5 separate regions of the Homo sapiens genome follow, and all the other regions are linked to region 4. Evidence: promoter capture Hi-C in 16 types of primary human blood cells and fetal thymus (Javierre and others, 2016). All regions are on one chromosome and are shown on one strand. Each heading gives the region's core, a stretch centred on a gene start or on the middle of the fragment in contact. The rest is flanking DNA. Distances are from core to core; before and after follow the strand shown.

Region 1 (4,965 bases), core at 31-2,530, 190 kb after region 4:
TCTTTCTTCTTTTCATAACTTTGGGTTATGTTTCTGCTACCAGCAGAGATTCTTAGCTATATGTTTCTGAATAAACTCTGAACCATCCTCATCTCATATGGTGTTTTGTTTTATATGAAAGCATTCCTGATATGAGATTTACACACATATCACATACCATAGGTATTATCCAATTTGATTCTCAAAACAGATGGTCGTGTGTTATTACCTCCATTTTTTCAGCTGAGAACAATTTAATGTGTGATGTTATGTAGCTAGTAAAGGGCAGACTCTTGTCCAAGCTGAGGTCCTCTCTTTCTGCCCAAGGACACTTACATTTAACTCTCAATATAGTAGAAATGACATTGGAAGTAAGTATTAGCAAGTCATATACTTGAGTTTTTTTAACAATAGGACAAATAATCTCTTATATTTGCAGATAACGTTTTTGTTTACAAAAAATTCCCAATTTCCCACACCTCAGTGAGAAACAGCTGCGTGATATGGCAGCAGGGACTGCATTTAATGGCTGCCCTGAATGCAGGGAGCTCTTTTTGTCTCAGCCTCTGACCAGCCACTCATTCAATTCATCTACATCAAAAAAAGCTTGGGAATTTATTGTGGACTCATGAGAGAGAGTCTCATCTGAAGAAACTTGTTGTCAATATCATGTAAATAAAATACTTATACAGCCTTCATCTCCTGAATACCTATTGATGAAGTAAATGAAACTAAGTTATTTCTTGTAAAATGCAGACCATACATTTTGCCACATTAAGACAATTTGTCCCCTAATTGTAATGTTATGAGGGAAATTATGTAAGAACAAAGCTGAGAATTGAGAAACTACACAATGGGCATGTAAGACTTGGCACAATCCATAATCTCTGAGCCAAGTAAGGGAATGAAACAGCCTTCTGCATTTTGTGAGGCCAATAGGAAGCATTCAAAGAAATGAAAAACTTGTGTTTCCAGGGAAATCAGAAGAATGTAAGAAAGGAGCAAAGTAGAACTTGTGCATTCATAGAAGTCATAATAGACAGAGGTTAGTGCTTTGGGTCCTGAACCGATGTAAGCTAAGCATTCACCCATGGAAAGATTGATTGATACAGGCTCTGAGAGAAATATAAAAGTTGGGGACCTGGGTCACCTTCTTCGGACCTCCTACCAGCACTGGAGTGCTAGAATTACCTCTGATCAGCTAAAAATGTAGATTTCCATGACAGATGCCAACTTCTGAGACTGTGAATCTAGAATGCTCTGAAGACTTGGCTAAGAGACAACGGCCACTTACTGTGATCATCGTTCAGGGTTGAAGTAAAGGAGATGAAAACTAGGACATTCTCTTTGACTAGCATCATTTATGAAAGATGAATAAGTTCAGCATGTCTACTGTACAGTAATGTGACTATAGTTAATAACACTTTATCATATACCTGAAATTTACCAAGAAGGTAGATCTTAAATGTTCACACCACAAAAATTAAAAGGAAATGGTAGCTTCGTGACCTAATAAACATATTATTCACAAGGAATATATATATCAGAACATCACCTTGTATACCTGAAATAGATACAACTTTTATTTGTCAATTATACCTCAATACAGCTAGGAAAAAAAGTATTTAGTTGATCTAGTTAATTATTACAAAAATATTCCTATCTTCAACATTAAAATTGGTAATTTTCTGAACAAGAAACACTAATATGTTCTGGATTGCCTGCTATAGGATGGGTATTTGCTAAACACTTTGTGTACATTATTATTAACTCTTTAACAAACTTTCAGAATAGGTATTAATATTCCCAGCGTAGAGATAAGAAAATTGAGGCTGAGGGAGTTAACATAATGTCATAGATTAGTTTCTCCCGAAAAGACTTTGAAGAAAAGATTCCAGTGAAACTAGTTTACTGGGAAGTGCAGATCACACCGGTAGGAATTGGGGAAGTGATACAGAAAAGGGTACACTATAAAGTCAGTATCACAGTCACCAACTAAAGCTTAAACTAAAGGGAAAACTATCAGAAATGATGAAAAACACACAGCTAGAATTATCCTACTTCAGGAATGAGGAAGCTAGAGTCTTTATAAATCAGCTCTCCAGAATCATTGGTTGAGTGTTTTTCTCTGTGTTGCATTCACAGGTGGCATGACTTTCTACAGCTGCAATACAAGAGCCCTTGGCCACAGAGATGCGGACTCTGACAGATGGAAATTAATCCAAGCACACTAACATGCAAGATATATGGGCGCACTTACGAAAACTTGTCTGAGATCTACAATTAGCTCCACTCAAGTCAAATCTTTGCTGTTTAAATGTGATGGAGAGCCACAAGCTCTAAAAGAAGGAAGAAGCAGAGGAGAGGAAGAGAAGGAACAGAAGATGAGAGGAGGAAAGAGAAAAGAAACAAAAAAGAAAAAGAGAAGGGAGGAAGAAAGGAAGGAAAAGGAAAGGGAAGGGAAGGGATAAAGGAACCAAAAAAAAACATGAAGGAAGGAAGGAGAAGGGGTGATTGAAGAAAAAGAAAGAAAGAAAAATGAAGAAGGAAACGAAAAGCTGGGGGAGGAAGTGAGATATAAAATGAAGGCCAATGAAATAAGCTACACTTACTGCTGCTATAATACAGTGCACCTGAGATTCATAAGCTCCATTAATTACCACCAGTCCTATTCTCCCTTCACCCCTGGCCAGCACTCTTGTTTGTCTAGATAACTGCCTGAGGGAGTAGCTCAGAGCATCCTTCCTGAAGGGTCTGAGCCCCTGGTTACTATACCACTGTCCGCTGTGATTACTGTTTTTACTGTTTTGTGGTTATCACTGGGCATGGACACACTATGAGATTCTGCAGTGTTATGGGTTAATTTGTGTCCTCCAAAATTCATGTTCAAATAGAATCATTTAAAATGTTATGTGATAAGAAAAGGTCATATTGGAAACAATTAGGCTTCTGATTAAATATGACTGATATCTATACACAAGGGGGAAATTCAGAGACAGTATGCATATAGTAGAAAACTTATGTCAAACACACATGGAAATGATAGACATCTACAAGTCAAGGAGAGAGACCTGGAACAGATACTTCCCTCGCAGGCTTCAGATGAAAACAACATTGCCAACAGCTTAATTCCAGACTAGAGGCCTTTGGAACTGTGAAAAAATAAATTTAAGCCACTTGGTTTGCAGTAATTTACCATGGCACTGCTAGTAAGTTAATATACTCAGTAAATCACCTGAGCTATAGATACATTCTCCTACACTATGTGGCTTGAGGATAATTACCCCTCACCAAATAGTAACTCCTTTCTCTGTCTGCTGCTCTCCTGACATGAAGAGTCCAAAGTGACTATGCAATAACGATTACTTTTGATTATGCTAAAGAAATAGAGAAGCAAATACTGTAATTTTTATTTACATGAATATTTTTTAAAGCCAAAAGTTAGCTATAGGATTACAACTTGACAGAGTGATTAGCTGTCTTTGGGAATGAGTAAGAGGATATAATTGGGAGAGAATGGGATTAATTTCTATTTTCTAACATAGATGTAATGGGGACATAGATGTATTTACAATATAATAATGTATCAAGTTGGAAATTAATAATTTGCATTCCTCTGAAATGAATGGTAATTCCTAGAAAATGTTTTAAACATGTTAGAACTCCACGATGAATCAGGTGTCATCTCAACTCATCTAATTAATTCATTAAATAGAAGGAGAGGCTGTGGATGGTGGCTCATGCCTGTAATATCAGCACTTTGGGAGGCCGAGGCAGGCAGCTCACAAGGTCAGGAGTTCGAGACCAGCCTGACAAATATGGTGAAACCCTCTCTCTACTAAAAATACAAAAATTAGCCGGGCATGGTGGCCGGCATCTGTAGTGGCAGCTACTCGGGAGGCTGAGGCAGGTGAATCCCCTGAATCGAGGAATCAGACGTTGCAGTGAGCCGAGATCACGCCACTGCACTCCAGTCTAGGCGACAGAGAAAGACTCCGTCTAAGAAAGAAAGAGAAGAAATGATACTGACTGTGCTAGTAACCAGGGTTATGGCTAGAGCCACAGCTTATGCACGTTGGCCTGAATCTCAAGCAGTTATGTCATAGAAAGTTCTACATTCTCATCCCGGTAATCCCCACACTCGCAGACAAGTGAGAATGAATGCTCACCCCTGGGCGTAGATTGCTTGATGCTGTCTAAATCCCAGTGGATTTCTCTGCATCCACCTGCTCTCGATCGGCTCTGCCACATGGAACACACTGTGACAGACACCCTCTTCCCAAGTGACGTTCAAATAACTGAAAGACACAGGTGGTGAGGATTGCACAGAGATGCCTGTTAGTCTTGAGTCAGAATTTGGTGGGTGAATTGTCTTGGGCCCAGGCATGGATTCATTTTGTCACCGTAAATATATCAGCATCATGCTTCTCCCCACAGACACTTCCCAGTCTACATACAGCCAACTGTGAGGCTGGGCAGAGAGAATTTCCTGAGCTTCCCAGATCACCAAGAACTATCACATGACTAGATGATGGTCAGAGCAGGAATGATGCTGATGATGAGATGGGCTTCCTTTTATCTGAAAGGAAGTTTCTATGAGTAATTCACAATTAAGAAACAGATTAAACCCTTACTTTCAAAAGATTCATAAGTTTTCAGAAACAATTTCCCCTTTGACAATCCCAAAGGGACTGTGGAAAACAGTGTAAACAGAAACAAGGAAAAGTCCTGCTGATTGGTGGAAACTTTGGAAGCCAGGTGTATAAAAGGTCCAGATTGCAAGGGGTCATCAGATTCTGGGAAACTCACCTCTGAACAGAAACCCACCCTCCACCCCTGACACCATGACCCACTGTTGCTCCCCTTGCTGTCAGCCTACCTGCTGCAGGACCACCTGCTGGAAGCCCACCACTGTGACCACCTGCAGCAGCACACCCTGCTGCCAGCCCTCCTGCTGTGTGTCTAGCTGCTGCCAGCCTTGCTGCC
Region 2 (5,366 bases), core at 2,005-4,504, 130 kb after region 4:
GAATATAAATCATTCTGCTATAAAGACACATGCACACGTATGTTTATTGCAACACTATTTACAATAGTGAAGACTTGGAACAAACCCAAATGCTCATCAATGATAGACTGGGTAAAGAAAATGTGGCACATATACACCATGGAATACTATGCAGCCATAAAAAAGATTGAGATCATGTCATTTGCAGGGACATGGATGAAGCTGGAAGCCATCATCCTCAGCAAATTGGCACAGGAACAGAAAACCAAACACCACATGTTCTCACTCATAAGTGGGAGTTGAACAATGAGAACACATGGACACAGGGAGGGGAACAACATACACCAGAGCCTGTCTAGGGTGGAGGGCAAGAAGAGGGAGAGTATTAGGACAAATAGCTAATGCATGCCAGGCTTAAAACCTAGATTACGGGTTGATAGGTGCAGCAAACCACCATGACACATGTATACCTATGTAATAAACCTGCATGTTCTGCACATGTATCCCAGAAATTAAAGTACAATTTTAAAAAAAGTAAACTGATATCCAAAACACATTGCATCATATCATGGCTATGTAGATTTTTGCCCAAAAACTTTCAGTTAAAAGTTAAAATGAAAAAAATAAAGTTGAGATGAAATGGGGAAAAAAATAGAATAGGTAAGATTGTGAATATCCAGCAAAAGTTCTGTGAACTCAATTCTAACAAAGCAGAAGTTGTGGTTAATAAGGTCAGTGATGGTCTTCACAATAGCAAAGACATGGAATCAACCTAAATGCTTATCAATGGTAGACTAGATAAAGAAAATGTGGTATATGTATGCCATGGAATACTACACAGGCATAAAAAAAGAATGAGATCATGCCCTTTGCAGCAACATAGATGGAGCTGGAGGCCATTATCCTAAGCAAACTAACACCGGAACAGAAAATTAAATACTGCTTATTATCTCCACTTATAAGTAGGAGCTAAAAATTGAGTAAATATGGACACAAAGATAGGGACAACAGAGATACCTGTGTCTACTTAAGGGTGGAGGGTGGGAGGGGGGTGAGGATTGAAAAACTGCCTGTCAGGTACTATGCTGATTACCTGGGTGACAAAATAATCTGTACACCAAACCCTGCAACATGCAGTTTACCTATATAACAAACCTGCAGCCGGGCGTGGTGGCTCACGCCTGTAATCCCAAAACTTTGGGAGGCCGAGGTGAGTGGATCACCTGAGGTCAGGAGTTCGAGACCAGCCTGACCAACATAGAGAAAGCCTGTCTCTACTGAAAATACAAAATTAGCCGGGTGTGGTGGCGCATGCCTGTAATCCCAGCTGCTTGGGAGGCTGAGGCAGGAGAATGGCTTGAACCCAGGAGGCGGAGGTTGCAGTGAGCTGAGATCGCACCATTGTGCTCCAGCCTGGGCAACAAGATCTAAACTCCATCTGAAAAAAAAAAAAAGTCCTGCACATGTACCCTTGAACTTAAAATAAAAGTGAAAAAAAATAAAGAAATAAAGTCAGTGATGAAGACCTTGGGAAACAGTGAGCATCTTAAAGTCTGCAAAGGCTGGGGAGAAGAAATACGCCTGGTAAGAATGTCATCTGTTCAGTAAGAAGGCAGATGCCAGAGCTTAGAAGAAATTTAAGGTGATTTTTTTGGGACGAAGCACTGGGAGAAAAGATGGCTAGTAAGAGTAGGAACCTCACAGGAATTCCTTTCGGTTCATTCCATTTGCAAATGATCCCAATGAGGAAAAATTGCCAGAGGCCTAGAGTGGAAGGAGCTAATGCAAAAATTATTCTGGCAATGTGAATTCTAAACACTATTGGGATGCAAGCGTTGGCTGGACAATCATTAGAACATTGTGCCAAGGATTCGCAGTGTCTGGTAATTGGTTATTATTATTGGACTTCAGAGGTCACTTCAGTTCTTGAGATACTTCAAAAGTTCCCAAATGTTTTTGTTGGATTCAAAATTGACCATTCGCTGATTTTTGAAGTCCATAAGCAACAAAATATGTAAAATATGTAAAATTTAAAAAGAAACACAAAGTGCCATACATACTTATTAGGCATCCTTTGGAGGAAACAGGAAGGCTGTCTTCCAGGGTAGTAAATACTACCTTGAAAAACGTACCAGTATCTGGCCTTCAGCCTTGCACACTCCAGAAACTGAAATTATTTACATTCTAAGAGTGAAACCACCTCTGGGAGCAGGCTCACTTTCACCAAGCCCATAACATTAGTACCAGTTGAAGAATCTACATGAGAAATAACTTAAAGAGAAGATGACATTTTCATGGGTCTTTTTGACCAGGATATTTTCTTCCTATAGATATACCTGCATGAAAAGTGAAATTATAACCAAAGGTTATTTTCTTTTTTATAATTAAACTTTTTGAGATAATTGTAGATTCACATGCAGTTGCAAGAAATAATACAAAGAAACCTCTGTACTCTTTACCAAGTTTCCCCCCAATGATAACTTCTTGCAAAACTACAGTACGGTATCACAAGTCCAATGGTGACATTGATACCTTCAAGACACAGAGTAGCTCCATCAGCACAAGGATCCCTTGTATTGCCCTAAAAGCTTATTTTCTCAGCAAATATTTAGAACATTCTAATATTCTAGAAGTTCTAATAATACGGAATGGCATCTAATGCATTTGTTCTAAAACAGATTTTGCCAGGCACTCTGGAAAATTCAAGTGCCTTGGGTGGCTCTCCCTCCCCCATGCAATGTGTCGTAACCAGCACTTCTGAATTTGTCTCAGACTCTCTCTTTTCTCTAAGCTGCCATGGCTCACCAAACCTCCACCCCCATTTATAAGTCCCAGGTTCTTTTTAAAACCATCTTCAATCAACTTACAGTAATTTCTGCAGGTCTTGAAGCAGCCCCTCCCATGTTCCCCAACTTCTGATACAACCTCATTTATGCCTTTGCCTCATAAAGACCTACAAAACATTTTTAATTTTGTTTACTTTTGCCATCATATTTATGGATCATTTATGAAGTTTCAGGCCATAGCATACAAATTATATTTTAGGCAACTCCGGATTTTGTCCACTTTCTCTTTCTTCCAAATAAAAATATAAGCTGCAGCCATGCAGGTCTGTCTTCAGAAACTGGCATGGGCTCTTTGTTATCATTAGACAGTAACATGACATCATACACCTGTTTGTGTGATTCCCCCATCACACTCCTTCCCCTGGGATCCCTCAGTGAGTTCTGATGGTTTATGCACATCCTACTGCAATTTTTCCTATGACTGCCATTAAACATAAAAGACAATTCCACACTTCAGTCCTCTATTAAAATATAATATTATTATGGACAAGACCAAGTAATGCTTTCACGAAATGGTTTTTCATTTTCTTTAGCTCTGTCCAGTGTACAATGTATGTAACAAAACTTCCCTATTTTTCCACTGGAGAACCTCCATTCAGAATTCCCCCTAGATGGCAGATGTTGGCATGATTTTACTCCAGTATGTGTTTTAAAAAGAAAAGGAATGACACTCCCTAATTCCAATCCCAGCTATAACATTGATAGTTTAAGAAGTGTGAGAGAGCCCCCAGAACTGCCAATATTGGAAGTCCTATCAACATCAGATTGACTCACTGGAGAATTGTGAGGTTTGTTATGTTCAGAGTTTGCTCATGTGTAAAATGTGGAAAAATGGAAAAAGAATCAGAGGAACATGTATAATGATTCCCACTGAGGTTAACAAGTGTAGATTTGTTTCTAAGATATTAAGAACTTCATGAAATTATAGAAATTTTGAAGACTGATAATACTGATATTATATGAAATTATAGAAATTTTGAAGACTGATAACACTGTATTATGTAAGTTGTTCTGAGAGATTCCCACGGTATTTGTATGATGTTTCAATACCTTCTTTCAGCTTAGATAAGAATATTGGAATCTTCTGAAAATCGATATCAGAATCTACCCAACCTAAAAGCTTTCTACTGTACCTGTCTAATTAATATAAAAGCTTGAGAGTACTTGATATAAGTATAAATAAATGATATAAAGGCTTGAGAGGATGTTGATAGAACTTCTAGGGATTGGATTTAGGGAGTGTCCTTCCTTTTCTTTTTAAAACACATACTGGAGTAAAATCATGCCAACATCTGAAGTCCCCTCAGAATGGAGTACAGATATTATGAATCCAGATTCACCAAGAAGTTAGTTTTTTTTTTTTTAATTTAAAAAGCTGCTCATGCTGGGAATGTAAACTGGTACAACCACTGTGGAAAATAGTGTGGAGATTCCTTAAAGAACTAAAAGTAGAACTACCATTTGATCCAGCAATCCCAAAACTGGATATCTACCCAGAGGAAAAGAAGTCATTATACGAAAAAGATACTTGCACGTGCATGTTTATAACAGCACAATTTGCAATTGCAAAAAATATGAAACCAGCCCAAATGCCCATCAATCAATGAGTGGAAAAAGAAATGGTTGTATATATGATGGAATACTACTCAGCCATAGAAAGGAATGAATTAATGACACAGCAATCTGGATGGAATTGGAGACTATTATTCTAAGAGAAGTAATTCAGGAATGGAAAACCGAACCTGAAATCTTGTAAGTGGGAGCTAGCTATGAGGATGCAAAGGCATAAGAATGATACAATGGACTTTGGGGACTCAGGGGAAAAGATGGAAGGGGTGATGGATAAAAGACTACAAATTGGGTTCAGCATACACTACTCGGGTGATGGGTGCACCAGAATCTCACAAATCACCACTAAAGAACATACTCATGTAACCAAATACCACCTGTTCCCCAAAAACTTATGGAAGTAAATTTTTTTTTAAAAAAAAAGCTGCTCAGCTCTGTCTGATGCATGATCTCGTGGTAACAGTGGAAGTGGTCAGATGTTTGTCCGATCTCCAAAACCCATGTTCTTCTACCTTTTAAAGATAAAATGCTTCTTAAAACTGTTTCATCGGGGCATGGTGGCTCACGCCTGTAATCCCAGCACTTTGGGAGGCTGAGGCAGGTGGACTGCCTGAGGTCAGGAGTTCGAGACCAGCCTGGCCAACATGATGAAATCCCATCTCTACTAAAAATAGAAAAAAATTAGCTGCGCGTAGTGGCGTGTGCCTGTAATCCCAACTACCTGGGAGGCTGAGACATGGGAATTCCTTGAACCAGGAAGATGGAGGTTGTAGTGAGCTGAGATCGCACCACTGCACTCCAGCCTGGGCAACAGTGAGACTCCGTCAAAAAAAAAAAAAAAACACCACTAACACACACACAAAAACCTGTTTCTTCCTTTGTTAAATTAAATTTCTAATTAAAATTTTTATTTTTAAAGAATAGAGATTGGCATGCCATTGTAAGATGTGATACAAGAGATCCATGTACTCT
Region 3 (5,193 bases), core at 83-2,582, 170 kb after region 4:
CAGAGAAGCAAATACTATAATTTTTATTCACATGGAAATTTTAAAAAGCCAAAGTCATCTACTGGATTATAACTTGATAGAGTGATTAGCTGTTTGGAAATGAGTAAGCGGATATAATTGGGAGAGAATGGCATTAATTTCTATTTCCTAACCTGGTAATGGGGACATAGATGTATTTACAATGTAATACTATATCAGGTTGGAAATTAATAATTTGCATTCTTCTCAAGTGAATGATATACCTAGACAATGTTTTCAACATGTTAGAACTCCACGATGAATCAGGTGTCATCTCAACTCATCTAATCCCTTCATTGAAAAGAAATAGAAGAAATTACTTCTACTTACTTCTTCTTCTAGTTACTGCTAGTAACTAGGTTTAGGGCTAGAGCCACAGCACATGCTGGTTGGCCTGAATTTCAACGCTTACTTCTAGTTACTGCTAGTAACTAGGTTTAGGGCTAGAGCCAGAGCACATGCTGGTTGGCCTGAATCTCAAGAAGTTACGTGATAGAAAGTCCTCCATTCTCATCCCGGAAATCCCCACACTCCCAGACAAGTCAGAATGAATGGTCGTCCTAGGGCATACATTGCTTGATGCTGTCTAAATCTCAGCAGATTTCTCTGCATCCACCTGTTCTCGATCTGCTCTGTCGCATGGAACACACTGTGCAGTCACCGTCTTCCCAAGTGACATTCAAAGAACTGAAAGACACAGATGATGTGGGTGGCACAAAGAGATGCCTGTTAGTCTTGAGTCAGAATTTGGTGGGTGAATAGTCTTGGGCCCAGGCATGGATTCATTTTGTCACTGTAAATATATCAGCATCATGCTTCTCCCCACAGACACTTCCAAGTCTATATACAGCCAAACATGAGGCTGGCCAGAGAGAACTTCCTGAGCCCCCCGGATCAACAGGAACTGTCACATGACCAGATGATGGTCAGAGCAGGAATGATGCTGATGATGAGACGGGCTTCCTTTTATCTGAAACAAACTTTCTATGAGTAACTCACAATTAAGAAACAGATTAAACCCTTAGTTTAAAAGGTTCATAAGATTTCAGTAACAACTTCCCCTTTGACAATCCCAAATGGACTGTGGAAAACAATGTAAACAGCAACAAGGAAAAGTCCTGCTGATTGGTGGAAACTTTGGAGGCCAGGTGTATAAAAGGTCCAGATTGCAAGGGGTCATCAGATTTTGGGAAACTCACCTCTTAACAGAAGCCCACCCTCCATCCCTGACACCATGACCCACTGTTGCTCCCCTTGCTGTCAGCCTACCTGCTGCAGGACCACCTGCTGGCAGCCCACCACTGTGACCACCTGCAGCAGCACACCCTGCTGTCAGCCCTCCTGCTGTGTTTCCAGCTGCTGCCAGCCTTGCTGCCACCCAACTTGCTGTCAAAACACCTGCTGTAGGACCACCTGCTGCCAGCCCATCTGTGTGACCAGCTGCTGCCAGCCTTCCTGCTGTAGCACACCCTGCTGCCAGCCCACATGCTGTGGGTCCAGCTGTGGTCAGAGCAGCTCCTGTGCACCTGTGTACTGCAGAAGAACCTGCTACCACCCCACAAGTGTTTGTCTGCCTGGTTGCCTAAACCAGAGCTGTGGCTCCAACTGCTGCCAGCCCTGCTGCCGCCCAGCCTGCTGTGAGACCACCTGCTGCAGGACCACTTGTTTCCAGCCCACCTGTGTGTACAGCTGCTGCCAGCCTTCTTGCTGCTAATCAACTCCCAAGAGAACTACCATCCTCACACAACAACCTTCAGCTCAACTGACTTGTCTTTTGAGGGACTAATTTACTTTGCTGCTGACAGCCACCATGCTCTCACCCAAATTTTTATGAATTCTCTACATGTTTAAAATCTTGGGAATCTGCTTGAGGGAGGGCAGAATACTTCATCCTCATTCCCTCTTTCCTTACACCTTGTGGATCATGTGCCAGCTTCGTCTGTTCTTAATTTGGAGTCATGATCTCAGCTTTGTCTCAAAAATCAAGAGCTTCATTCTTTGCTTCTAAGGAATTTAGGTTTCTGCAACTGATCAATCATCTTTGCAATTATATTTTCATTTTAAATATCCTTCTCATGGTTCTTGTATCCTTCTTTCTTCTTTTCACGATAACTTTGGGTTATGTCTCTGGTAGCAGAGATTCTTACCTATATGTTTCTGAATAAACTCTGAACCATCTTCATCTCATATAGTGTTTTGTTTTATTTGAAAGCATTCCTGATATGGGATTTACACACATATCACATACCATAGGTATTATCCAATTTGATTCTCAAAACAGATGGTCGTGTATTATTAACTCCATTTTTTCAGCTGAGAACAATTTAATGTGTGATGTTATGTAGCTAGTAAAGGGCAGACTCTGGTCAAAGGTGAGGTCCTCTCTTTCTGCCCAAGGACACTTACGTTTAACTCCCAATATAGTAGAAAAGACACTGGAAGTCAGCACTAGCAAGACATGTACTTGAGTTTATTTAACAATGAGAGGAATAATCTGACATATTTGCAGATAACACTTTTGTTCACACACAAAAAAATCCCAAAGTAGTTCCCCACACCTCAGTGAGCAAAGGCTGCATGATATGCATTTAATGGCTGCCCTGAATGCAGAGATCTTTTTGTCTGAGCCTCTGACCAGCCATTCATTCAATTCATCTGCATCAAAAAATGCTTGAGAATTTATTGTGGACTCAGGAGACGGAGCCTCATCTGAAGAAACTTATTCTCAGTGTGATGTAAATAAAATTCTTATACAGCATCGGTCTCCTGAATACCAATTGACAAAGTAAATGAAACTAAGTTATTCATTGTAAAATACAGACCATACGTTATGCCACGTTAAGACAATTTGTCCCCTACTTGAAGTGTTATGAGTAAAATTATGTAAGAACAAAGCTGGGAATTGAGAAACTATGCAATGGGCATGTAAGACTTGGCACAACCCATAATCTCTGAGCTAAGGAAGGGAATAAAAACAACCTTCCACATTTTGTGAGGCCAATATGAAGAATCTAAAGAAATGAAAAACTTCTTTTTCCACGGAAATCAGAAGAATGTAAGAAAGGAGCAAGGTAGAACTTGTGCATTCATAGAAGACATAATAGACAGAGGTTGGTGCTTCGGGTCCTGAACTGATGTAAGATAACCATTCACTCATGAAAGGATTGATTGATGCTGGCTCTGAGAGAAATTGAAAAGTCGGGGACCTGGGGCACCTTCTTGGGGCCTCCTACCAGCAGGGGAGTGGTAGAAATACCTCTGATGAGCTAAAAATGTAGATTTCCATGACAGATGCCAACTTCCGAGACTGTGAATCTAGAATGCTCTGAAGACTTGGCTAAGAGACAACAGCCACTTACTGTCATCATCGTTCAGGGATGAAGTAAAGGAGATGAAAACTAGGACATTCTCTTTGACTAGCATCAGTTATGAAAGATGAATAAGTTCAGTAGGTCTAATGTACAGTAATATGACTATAGTTAAAAACACTTTATCATATACCTGAAATTTACTGAGAAGGTAGATCTTAAATATTCACACCAGAAAAATAAAAAGGAAATGGTAACTAAGTGACCTAATAAATATGTTATTCACAATCAATATATATATCAGAGCATCACCTTCTATACCTGAAATGTACACAATTTTTGTTTGTCAATTATACCTCAATACAGCTAGAAAAAAACGTATTTAGTTGATCTATTTAATTAATACAAAAATATTCTTATCTTCAACATAAAACTTGGGAATTTTCTGAACAAAAAACACTAATTCTGTGTTGCCTGCTCTATGATGGGTACTGGATAAATGCTTTGTGTACATTATTATTAACTATTTAACAAACTTTCAAAATAGGTATTAATGTTCCTCTTGTAGAGATGAGAAATTTGAGGCTGAGTTAACGTATAGTCATAGATGAGTTTCTCCCAGAAGAGACTCTGAAAAAAAATTCCAGTGAAACTAGTTTACTGGGAAGTGCAGATCATACTGGTAGGGACTGGGGAAGTGATACAGAAAAGGGTACACTATTAAGTCAGTTTCACAGTCACCAACTAAAGCTTAAACTAAAGTGAAAATTATCAGAAATGATGAAAAACACATAGCTGGTATTATCCTACTTCAGGAATGAGGAAGCTAGAGTCTTTATAAATCAGCTCTCCAGAATCATTGGTTGAGTGTTTTTCTCTGTATTGCATTCACAGGTGGCATGACTTTCTACAGCTGCAATACAAGAGCCCTTAGGCACAGAGATGCAGATTTTGACAGATAGAAATTGATCCAAGCACACTAACATGCAAGATATACGGGTGCAGTCATGAAAACTTGTCTACGATCTACAACTAGCTCCACTCAAGTCAAATATTTGCTACTTAAATAGAATGGACAGCCACAAGCTCTAGGAGAAAGAAGAAGAGGAAGAGAGGAAGCAGAGGAAGAGAAGGGACAGAAGATGAGAGGAGAAGGAAAGAGAAAAGAAGGAAAGAAAAACAGAAAGACAGAGAGAAGGAAGGAAGGAAGGACGGACAGGAGGGAGGGAAAAGAGGGAGCAGGGAGGAACCGAGGGAGGGAAAGGAAGGAAGGAAGGAAGGAAGGAAGGAAGGAAGGAAGGAAGGAAGGAAGGAAGGAAAGAAGGAAGGAAGGAAGGAAAGAGATCGAAAGAAAGAAAGAAAGAAAGAAAAAAGAAAGAAAGAAGAAAGAAAGAAAGAATAGAGAGAGAGAGAAGGGAAGGGAAGGGAGGGAGGCAGGAAGGGAGAAAAAGGAAGGAAGGAAGGAAAAGAAAGAAAGAAAGAAGAAGGAAAGGAAAAGAAAGGAGAGGAAGTGAGATATAAAATGAAGGCCAATTAAATAATCTACACTTACTTCTGCTATAATACAGTGCACCTAAGTTTCATAAACTCCGTTAATTACCAAGAGTTCTATTCTCCCTTCACCCCTGGCCAGCACTCTTTTTGGTCTAGATAACTGCTGATAGAGTAGCTCAGAGCATCCTTCCTGAAGGGTCTGAGCCCCTGGTTACTATACCATTGTCCACCGTGATTGCTGTTTTTATTCATTTGTGGTTATCACTGGGCATGGACACACTATGAGATTCTGCAGTGTTATGGGTTCATTTGCGTCCCTCAAAATCCATATACAAATAGAACCATCTAAAATGTTATCTGATAAGACAAGGTC
Region 4 (5,623 bases), core at 1,305-3,804:
AAATGCTCCACAAGGAATATAAATGAATGTTACTGGGCATTTAACTATGTGCCAGGCATCTTGCATACATAAAAAGTTATAATTGTTATTTAACTTCCCTAGCAATCTACATTGGTAAATGTTGCTTTTCCCATTTTGCGGATGAGAAAACTCGAGAGTCAGAGAGGTTAAGTTACACTAATGCCAAAATTTTTTCTTTAAATAATTATCTACCTTTTAAAATTCTTGTGGTAAAGACAATTTCCTTTTATTTTGACAACTAAACAAACAGAAATTAAGTACCGGCTACGTATTAAACTTTGAGCTCAGTATTGGAAGCCAAAAACAAACTGTGGTCCCCTCCTTGGAGGCAAAAAAACATATAATCTCAATACAATGCCTTATGGGGAGGGAGGTAAGCTATTGGAACTTGCTGAGAGCTCCTAACCTGTATGTGTGTGTGTGTGTGTGTGTGTGTGTGTATGCATTTGCACATGTGTTTGTGTGATACAGGGGTTGGGACAGGACTACTGGAGAAGACTGAATTGAATCTTGGAAATGAATCAGAGTTAAGTAGGTGATGAAGGTGAAGAGAAAGAGTGTGTAAAAGAACAGATAAGTGAAAGAACATGAGGAAAAGCGAAACATTTGGAACTGCAAATGTTTAATAACTATAAGGTCAGTGTTGCTTGAAGTGAATCTTAGTGGGGAGCAGTGAGACATGGATCTATAGAGATGGGCAAAGGACAGGCAGCAGACCACCTGATGTGCACACACTTCCTAGCCACATGGGTAATCTGAGGACTGGCCTAGCTCTCCTGTAACATCTTCAAATACCAAATACTTGTACCAGGAATCCTAGTGCCTGTCTCTGTTCCTCTTCTGTCTTTCTCATCATCTCCATCATCTTCCTCTTCACTCTTCCTCCTATTCATTGCCTTGCCTCCCCTCTTCACTTTTTATTCATCCCTTATCTCTTACTTTTTGTCTCTCTTTTTTTGTTGTCATTTTATTCCACCTATGACAAACTCAAGATACTGTTTTTTTGCACATTCATTTACATTCACTTCTCTGCCAAACCGATTCTTCTGATTACAGTTTAGCAGGTGCTGTTTCATACTTATTATTATATTACATTTTTTTCTTCACTTTGGGTGTCTTCATTGTGGCTTGTCCTTGTGACTATTCTTGGAAGGCTTCCAGGCCATGCTTGTTAAGCCCTCAAGGAGCTCAAATCCTGGTCTTCCTCTGAAATAATGGTCCTGAAATTCTAATGAATTACATGGAAGTGATAGAAAATAAACAGCCTTGGGCCCCACTCCCAGAGATTTTGATTCATTAGGTTTGGTTTGGGGCCTAAGAATGTGCATTTTAATAGGCAATTGCAAGAGATTCTATTGTGTATGACGCATGGGCCACACTTTGAAAAATGCTACTCTAGGAACTGTGGTAAGAAGATGAGATGCGCTGTGCTGGTCAGTTTACTACCAGTGGTCATTCTGGGCTTGGCATATGCTATTCCCACTTCTACCCCTCTTCATGAACATTGTCTTTCCTTTTGTCTATTCCATTAGACCATAAGCTTCTTGGATACAAGGCATGTAGCTTGTTCATCACTAATCAGGCAGCACCTGTCAACTGGAGGTCCCTTGATAAACAATTCCTGAATGACTGAATAGATGAGATTTCTATGGATAAGGTTTTGCTTAGGTTGAGCTTTGTTTCCCTTGTGCAGGTTCCAAAATCTTGCTTATCTGTGTACGCTAATAAACATGCACTAACGAACAAATCAGGGAGCAGGGCAGTCTGCTATGCCAGGAAAAATTAGTTTATTGACAACAGTGAGCAACACATTGCAAAAGATGATGGTGACAGTTTGAGCAGTAAAAACCATCAGGTTGTAGAATGTGTTTGCAAAGTCCACCCCAGGAATTCTTAAAGGTCGATTTACTATCCATAATGACTAAGGCTGATGTAGACACCTGAAAATGTGGGTGAGGGTGGTAATGGACGTCTGCTTACACCAGGCTGTATCCAGATGGTAAAAATCACTATTGTCACCTTGTGAAAAAAAATCTATTTTTCTTTTAACTTTTTAAAAACACCAGATAGATGTTTAGGCTTCAGTGTATTGCTCTGTGGGGGCATTGGGGTCTCAGCAGGAGGAGGTCCTGCAGGTGGTGCTGCAAGGGGTCGGCTGGCCGCAGGGGGGCCGGCAGCAGGGGGACTGCACAGACACAGGCTGGCAGCAGGTGGTGGCCCAGCAGCAGGGCCTGCACACCACAGCCGTGCACGACGAGGGGCAGCAGGTGATGGGGCGGCAGCAGCCTTCCTGCAGGGAGCAGGGGTCGCAGCACACCGGGCGGCGGCAGGGCTCGCAGATGGGGCGCGTGCAGCGGGGCACGCAGGTCACGGGGCGGCACACGGTGGTCTGGCAGGTCACGGGGCGGCAGCAGCAGGGGTCGCGGCAGCAGCAGGGCTGGCAGCAGCCTCCCCCGTAGCTCAGGGAGGACAAGGTGGAGCCGCAGCAGGAGCCGGTCATGGTGGTGTCTGAGGCTGGTGTGGGTTGGGCTATTGAGAGGAGCTGGATGTTCTCAGGTGTGAATGTCCTCCTCCCCCTCTGGGCCCTTTATATACCCTGGCTGGGAGCTGATGACCCTTCAACATATGATCATTTTCTTGTGCATCTTCTGGCCAATTAAGTGAAGATTTAGCATTGACTAATGGTATTTTGGTCACTCTTCACCTCATACATATTCATGTACATACACCACAAATATTCGCTCATTTTCTTGTATTGTTTATCCTCACTAAATTTAGACATTGGATTCACTTCTGATTAATTTTCCTTTGAAATATTCCTAACCCATAAGAGAGAAAAGAATGTGTTTTCTAAATTAGTGTCTAATCGCTCTGCCCTTTGGCGCTAAAATTAGCATGTTCTTCCTTGTCTTCAAAGGCTCCCATCACCGGCACCCAAGCAGTGACTTGCCTTATTAATGCACATGGGCATGATGGTAGCAGGTTAATTGCATCATCCTAGTGCAGACCAGTAGTCATCTGCTTCACAGATAGCTCCTTCCATGACTCACTTAAAGATAGGCTTGTGGTTTTTCATATGAGCAGGGACCACACGAAATGCAGATCCCTGGCCACTGGTGTGGTCACTCTCCCCTGACTAGGACCTGGGCTTTCCTGCCTTGGTTTTGATGTGTCATCATTCACCTGGAATGCCCTCCTCATCCTTCCAATCCAAACTCAACTTCTACCTTGATTGTAAAACCCTCTTCAAGGATCCATTGCAATTATTATATTTGTAATTTGTTTGGAATTAGTCGTTGCATCTGTAGAGTCCGGGAAGGGATTGCGGAGAATATGTAGGCCTATGCCCTCACTCTACAGCTGAGGTCCTGAGAGTGTACCAAGGTCACACAATGAGGTCACCATATGAGGTCTGAGATCCAGGTCTCCTCAGTCTGCAGTAAGTAGCCTCTACTATGAGTTTTATGCTCATTGGATTCAGTAAACCATGGTCTTTAGACAGGAAAGAAAACATATATTAAAGTAGAAGCCCAGACTTCATGCCACTATGCAATATATCCATGTAACAATGCTGCATTTGAACCTCTTACATTTATACATATTAAACACAGATTTAAAAAAATAAGTAATGAACTTTCCTTTCAGCAGCAAGGTTAGAAGTGGTACTGGAAGAGAATTAGGGAAATGTTTTGCCCAGATGACACATTGTCATCCTGGACCCCCATTGACTCCACTAAGTATGACAATGTGTCTGAGAGCTAGAGAAGGGACCTGGAGAAAGCTAACATGATGCAGGGTTTATTAGTGGAACTTACATACAAGGGTGGTCCAGTGGTGGTATCTGGACAGGAGAACTGCTATTATTTGTAAAAAGCATGCAGTTCACACAGTATTTTCATTAGAACCCTCCACCTAACAACCTCCATTTAATCCAAAACAAAGGGCCTCAATCCCCAGTATGACCTGTGTTCTAATGGATGAGGTGGGGATTCAAATGTCCTTCATAGATAAGGAGTGGATCTCCAAGTTGGCCACTCCCAGATCCTTAGCTCAGAACTCCAAGCATACATTCTTCTTTGATTGTAGGATCATTCTCAGGGTATGCTTAAGTTAAGTTATTGCTGCCAGATGTGTCTGCCATACCCTCCACCTCAGCATACCCTTGAATAGCCCTTACATTCTAATCACACCATTCTTCTGAGATTTCCCTGGGGCTAGGATATGCAGAGGAGCATTGCAACCAGATGTTTCAGCAGCAACATAAACTACTACAACAAAAAAGAATAATGAATGTAACAACAATTGTACTGTATAGAAAGTTTTTCCAAGCACTCAGGAGTTGATTAAACCATGTGGTTACAGGGTCATAAGATAGAGATTCTATAGCAGAAATCTGGGTATCTAGGGCCCACATGGCCTGTGTTACATTGTGAGAGTAATCAGGGATATATACACAAAATTCAGTTTTAATTAATGCACAGGTTCTGCCCTGATAAGCGGTTAAGATGTCCTGGGCCATGCAATTTTGCAAAGTAACACACCTAATTTGGGCAGTTTCTTCAGTGAGAAGAGTAATATCATGGCAGATATCATTAAAGACTGCAGCCCTATGTTAAGCCAGGGCCTCAACTTGCAGCTGTATGTCTATTGTCACCACTTGGGTGGTGAGTGGTGGGGGGAGTGGCGGGGGGGACATGGCAAAAGTGGCCAACGGGTAAAACCACTGGGATGCATGCTTCCAGCAGTGCCTGGCTTTTACAATTTCCCAGTTAGTAAGAATGGTGTCTAAACTGGGCACGATGTATCCCAGCAAATGAGGATGTCCCCAGGTGCATCTACCAGTCCAGTTATAGGGTAAGTAAGGCCAACTGTGGATGCCGCATGCCCACAGCCATCCTAAGGGGTGTGGTAGGCCCCCAGGTGGAGAGTCACTCTGTCGTCGCAGTCAAGTATCACTGGTTACCTGAAGAGATTGGTTTCATTGCTGTCATATTCCATGTCTATTACCTGAAGAAATAGATTACATTACACTGTGGGGGTAGCCATCCCATACTACTGGTTTTAGCTTGTGGCATGCTATTATCATGCCTTTTAATACATGTGGGTGCACAGCCCACAAGCTGTATCTATACTGCTGTTGTCCACCCTGGCCCATCATCTACAGAATACCCCACAGTGGGGGTGACATTAACCTGCTCCTATACTAGGTGGAAAATATGTTGTCTCATCTCTGATGGTGGGAAACTTATCACATGAAGTGTGGTTATTGCTAAAGGGAAATGGGTGAGGGTCATTATACCAAGTATAGAAATGGCTCCAGATACTGAGGTTAGCTGCTTGGATGCACCATGGCAGGCTGATGCTGGAGGAGAAGGGCAGCTCCCTGCAGATGCAACAGTCTGTTTTGTTTTGGGGAAAGGTCGCCATTTGCACCCAGTTGGTGAAGAGGTACACCACCTATGGGTGACAGGTGAGATACCTAGTGGGTAGAAGAATGGGCAAGTTGGCCGGGCACAGTGGCTCACGTCTGTAATCCCAACACTTTTGGAGGCCAAGGCGTGTGGAACACCTGAGGTCTGGAGTTAGAGACCAGCTGACCAAC
Region 5 (5,075 bases), core at 4-2,503, 220 kb after region 4:
TTTTCATTCAATCTGAACTGATCAAAATAAGGATAGCTCCCTCTCCTTCAGGAAGCATTGAGCATGCCAGCATTTGCAAAATATATACCCGAACTTGAATTGCAAGAGCAGTTTTTTCCTTTTTGGCCCTGAAAATAACTTACAACATCCAAGAAGACTTTAAACAATCTATCTTTTACCTATTGCACAATTTGTTATTATACAATAGGGGGCTTATTGTTATTATTGTTGTTTGTAATGGTATTTCTAGGGCTTTCTATATTTCAAATGACTGACTCTTAATTCTGTTTAGTGCTGAATCACTGTTTTCCTCTTTCGTTTTTCTTTTAACTGGTAAATATTAACTTCCTTCATACAGCTCTGTCCTAAGACAGGTACAGCTAGCTTATTGGTGACAGCCGGACATGCTTGCACTGAATGACCGATGGTTTCCACTCTTCTTCTTTCCTCCTCTTTCCTAGTAGCTCAGTTCAATAAGGTTAAGCCCTTTTCTGATGGTTTGAGATACATTTAAAATGAATTTCTTATATTTATTTTTCTGGTGAAATAATATGTTATCAGGGAAACAATAGGGATTTGGCTTTTAAAAATTCATCATAGTCTTGTTAAAAAAAAAATTATTCAATGGCACTTGTGAAAGCCTGGTAAGGGAGACTTTATTCAGGAACACTGCAGTAAACAAAGGAACCACCATAACAGGGTCTTGCATTGGGAGACAGAGATTGGACTCATCTCCTAACATAGCATGGGCAAGTGAGAATTTACAGCCAAGGAGCAGGGTGGCGGTCAGTGGATGGAAAATTACTAAGAGGAAGCATCACCAGTAGGGAAATTTTGGCTAAACTGACCTAAAAGTGCTCTTGCTGAAGACAGGCGAGGGTGATCAAACATCACTTGGAGAATGGTGGCAGATAAGAGATCTGATCCGCTATTAAGGGTGATCAGATATCGAGGATGGGGAGTTCTTGCTAAACCTATTTAGCAGGGCTCTTTGCTAAAATTTTACAAAACTGGATTTTACAAGGAAGTGCACCCATGGGCCTATGAGAAGGTTCAGAAGCTTGACTAAACTATGGACAAGGAAAAAAATCTTCATTGGTCCTTACTGCCTTTTTAAAGAAACATTGGACTTCATGGCCACTAGTGAGGGTTTGGATTTAACTAATGAGTATCACTAGAAATTGGACATGCATGAGATTCACCATCCCTGTCCACCACCTCTGCTGATTGTCTTAATAACTGGTTAATTTTGCCACCTCTAAAATATCTTTCCTGCACATTTCTTCATTGTATTTATAATTTGAATTATCTTCTTTGCAACTAAGGCATTTCCCAATTTATCACCTAGTAATCTATACTCATCTTGCATATCCTTTCGTGACCTAGATTATGTGTGCAGTATATCCTTCATAAGCTCTTAAATTTAAAGGATATTTTATATTTTACAAAGCTTTTTCCCATTTTGGCCTGGCACAGTGGCTCACACCTGTAATCCCAGCACTTTGAAAGGCCAAGGCAGGAGGATCATTTGAGGTCAGGAGTTCGAGACCAGCCTGGCCAACATGGCAAAACCCGTCTCTACTAAAAATACAAAATTAACCAGGCTTGGCAGTGTGCACCTGTATTCCCAGCTACTCGGGAGGCTTAGGCACGAAAATCACTTGAACCTGGGAGGCAGAGTTTGCAGTGAGCTGAGATCGCGCCACTGCACTCCAGCCTGGGTGAAAGAGCAAGACTTTGTCTCAAAAATTAATTAATTAATTAATATTTTTAAAAAAACAAAGTTCTTTCACATCTATTCCCATGCCACTAAGTCAAGAGACTAATTTTTAAGACTTCGGGAAAGATCTATGGATCCCATCCATGCTGACTTAGAGCATAAGCAAATAGTTCATTTAAACAGCAACCCTTTAACCAGGCACAGTGGCTCACACCTGTAATCCTAGCACTTTGGGAGGCCAAGGTGGGTGGATCACTTGAGGTCAGGAGTTCAAAACCAGCCTGACAAATGTGGTGAAACCCCGTCTCTATTAAAAATGCAAAAAATTAGTGGGGTGTGGTGACACGCACCTGCAATCTCAGCTACTCGGCAGGCTGAGGCAGGAGAATCGCTTGAACCCAGGAGGCGGAGGTTGCAGTGAGCCAACATCAAGCCACTGCACTCTAGACTGTGCGACAGAGCAAGACTGTGTCTAAAAAGAGCAATCCTTGGATTTTGTTTGCAACAGCTCTAGACTATTTATCAGGAAATCACTACCATCAAATATTTTTCCAGTTCCAGCTAGGTTCAGGTGTTGCCAAGAAGTTTCTGATGAAGTGGGCTACAGGAGGGAACTTACTTCTAGATGTTATAGAACTATTGTTGTAAGATGAATTTATTTAGGTGGGCAAACTGATGAGACCAACATGAGTAACACCAAATGCCGTACACCACGCAGATGGGCAAGTTTCATGTTATACTGGGGACTCATGGGCTCATTACACCCATCTTTTGGGCCATTTTTATGTCTCAAATATCAGTTTTTATTCTGTTGTCTTAACTTATAGCCACTGAGATAACTCCCTACTGATATTTAGTTTCCAAGTTGACCTTTACAAGGCTGCCTTAACTTTGCCCCTTAACATCCTTTATCAAAGCCCATTACACGAATCCCACATTTGAGATTTCCAAAATAAGACAATCATGCATAGCTTTTCCTCAGGAATGGAACTTCTCAGGACAAGTCTGACGTGTACCCTAGTTATTAAATAGATAGGGAAACAATCAGAAAAATGACAGGGGAAATTTCATTCTAATAGACACTGGGAGAAAAGATGGCTTATGTTGACTTAATTCTTTTTAAAATACTTTACTGTGTGTGATTAGTATCCTAAGGCCTTTTAAAATACTTTTCAGTATACTATAAAGATGCCAGAGGGAGTTATAAGGAGCTATGGGCTGGGATTTGATTGAAAAAGTCCAAGTAGGTCAGGCGTGGTGGCTTGTGCCTGTAATCCCAGCACTTTGGGAGGGCAAGGCAGGCAGATCACTTGAGGTCAGGAGTTCAAAACCAGCCTGGCCAACGTGGTGAAACCCCATCTCTACTTAAAAAAATAAAAAATAAAGGCCAAGTAGAGAATACGAGTTTGAGCCATATGAAGTTTCCATTTTTGTAGATCAAAAATAACTGCATAGCTACAACTTCAAAGGTTTAGCCTTAGGAAGAAAGATTCGTGAACAAGTCATTAAACAGGGATGGTAGGAGTCCATGAGAAGAATGAAAGAAGCTCCAGATGCTTTTTGGTTGGAAAAAAACAAAAACAAAAACAAAAACAAAACAGCAGAAAACATGGTGAAAATGTGTTTTTTAATGAAATGGTTGTAAACAAAGTGAGTATGCCATTAAACAGGAAAAGGCCTATTGCTTTGTACTGATAATCTTGTACTGTGCTTGCGATATAGAAATCAACGCTCCTCTTATTTCTCTTTAGTCTTTTTTTTTTTTTTAATAGACAGAGTTTCGCTCCTGTTGCCCAGGCTGGAGTGCAATGGTGCGATCTCGGCTCACCGCAACCTCCACCTCCTGGGTTCAAGCAATTCTCCTGCCTCAGCCTCCCAAGTAGCTGGGATTACAGGTGCCCACCATGCCCGGTTTCTTTCTTTCTTTCTTTTCTTTCTTTTCTTTCTTTCTTTCTTTCTTCCTTTCTTTCCTTCTTTCTTTCTTTCATCTTTAGTAGAGACAGGGTTTCACCACATGGGCCAGGCTGGTCTTGAACTCCTGACCTTAGATGATCCACCCGCCTCAGCCTCCCAAAATGCTGGAATTACAAGCATGAGCCACTGTGCCCAGCCTTTTCTTCAGTCTTTCTAATGAGAATAGTAACCAACCATCTGTAAAGAGAAAGAGAAAACCAAGATTAGGGCATAATAAGCAGTAACCAGTAGTTTGTCCCTGGGGAGGGGGATGTGGATGGGGTGTTTGGAAACTAGGACTTCCCATTTTTTTTCCTACATTGTTTTCCCCCTCAAGCACAGGTTACTTTTATAACAAAAGAAAAATTGAAATGTTTCCTTCTGAACTGAAATGAGAAAACTTGCAACAAGAGCGACAGATTTTAATTCCTTTTGATCTGAATAAAGAGAGCTATAAGCACTAAAAGAAGTTTAATATGAAGTAAGCTCCTCAGTGTGATGTTGCATTTTTTGTATGATGCATTTGTATCCACCCTTCATCCAATTCATGATCCATGAACTGTAAATATGTCAGTATCTGGCAAGGAAAATCTGGGCTTATAAAAGGAACCTGGCCTCCTTATTTCAGGCTGAGAGCAGGGATTGAGAGAAGATCTGAGATCTCCCGGTGGCGTATGGCACAAAGACTGTGAAGGTTATGCTAGAAACACTCTTATTTGGTGTCTATCTTTTCAGACAATAGGAAATAATTGAATTGGAAAAATGACTAAACATTGATAAGGACAAATCAATTTTGCAAATGCTTAGATTCTCTAAATAAATTCATGTCACTGCATGCTGTGCACATTAGGTCCCAGAGCAGTTAGAGACTGAAAATAAACCACATATTGATATTTGAGGAATGTTAGAGAACAAGAGCTACTCAACGTGTTGAGACAAGCAAAGACCATCCCAATTTTTCAAGTTTCTGCAAACCATACACCAATCAGCTTGATCTTATCTTAGAAAAAGACTTTAGAATAAATTGTTCAGATGATCTTTTGTGAATGCCAAAAAATAAAACATGGTACCACTTAGACCAACCCATGTAAAATAACTTTTTATTTTTGCTAGATTCATTGATAAACGAAATTCAGTACAAAATGAATCTGGATTTCAGCAGAGCATTTCAAAAGGACTCTCATCGTAGCTTATGAAAACATTGCAGAAAGGTGGATTCAATTCAGTGACAATTTGCCAAGACATGTTTTATTCTAATGTCACTGTCTTACTTTATCCAATAATAATAAGAACTTGATCCTAAATTCAAACTGAGGCCCTGGATAAGAGATGGGCTAGAGGGGCAGATAGGCAGACAGTTTGGGGCAGACTCACTGGACAGTCTTTTCTGCAGATGCTCAGA

Evidence for each region. The method cuts DNA at HindIII sites, captures the fragments that hold promoters and counts their contacts. A CHiCAGO score of 5 or more calls a contact.
Region 1: a fragment that was not itself captured here is called in contact with the fragment with the promoter of KRTAP2-4 in region 4 in 2 of 17 cell types (total CD8 T cells and naive B cells); the score reaches 5.2 in total CD8 T cells.
Region 2: a contact is called between a fragment that was not itself captured here and the fragment with the promoter of KRTAP2-4 in region 4, in 1 of 17 cell types (activated CD4 T cells). The highest score is 5.0, in activated CD4 T cells.
Region 3: a contact is called between a fragment that was not itself captured here and the fragment with the promoter of KRTAP2-4 in region 4, in 1 of 17 cell types (naive B cells). The highest score is 5.2, in naive B cells.
Region 5: a fragment that was not itself captured here is called in contact with the fragment with the promoter of KRTAP2-4 in region 4 in 1 of 17 cell types (total B cells); the score reaches 5.9 in total B cells.

Annotation. Positions count from the first base shown.
Region 1 is chr17:41,250,563-41,255,527 of GRCh38, forward strand. It overlaps KRTAP9-4 (keratin associated protein 9-4), which reads left to right. Exons shown (of 1, transcript NM_033191.3): 1 at 1-91. KRTAP9-9 (keratin associated protein 9-9) reads left to right here and starts at 4,822. Exons shown (of 1, transcript NM_030975.2): 1 at 4,822-4,965. The coding sequence starts at 4,824. The HindIII fragment of the contact is 1,395 bases long and covers 584-1,978 here.
Region 2 is chr17:41,194,105-41,199,470 of GRCh38, forward strand. No RefSeq gene overlaps it. Among named protein-coding and RNA genes, the nearest start is that of KRTAP9-1, 6.9 kb to the left of the region's middle. The HindIII fragment of the contact is 1,378 bases long and covers 2,566-3,943 here.
Region 3 is chr17:41,231,250-41,236,442 of GRCh38, forward strand. It overlaps KRTAP9-3 (keratin associated protein 9-3), which reads left to right and starts at 1,200. Exons shown (of 1, transcript NM_031962.3): 1 at 1,200-2,205. The coding sequence starts at 1,253. The coding sequence ends at 1,732. The HindIII fragment of the contact is 5,484 bases long and covers 1-4,074 here.
Region 4 is chr17:41,063,325-41,068,947 of GRCh38, forward strand. It overlaps KRTAP2-4 (keratin associated protein 2-4), which reads right to left and starts at 2,555. Exons shown (of 1, transcript NM_033184.4): 1 at 1,792-2,555. The coding sequence starts at 2,521. The coding sequence ends at 2,135. RefSeq lists enhancers at 1,751-2,288, 2,289-2,825. The HindIII fragment of the contact is 6,863 bases long and covers 1,560-5,623 here.
Region 5 is chr17:41,286,923-41,291,997 of GRCh38, forward strand. No RefSeq gene overlaps it. Among named protein-coding and RNA genes, the nearest start is that of KRTAP29-1, 13 kb to the right of the region's middle. The HindIII fragment of the contact is 390 bases long and covers 1,059-1,448 here.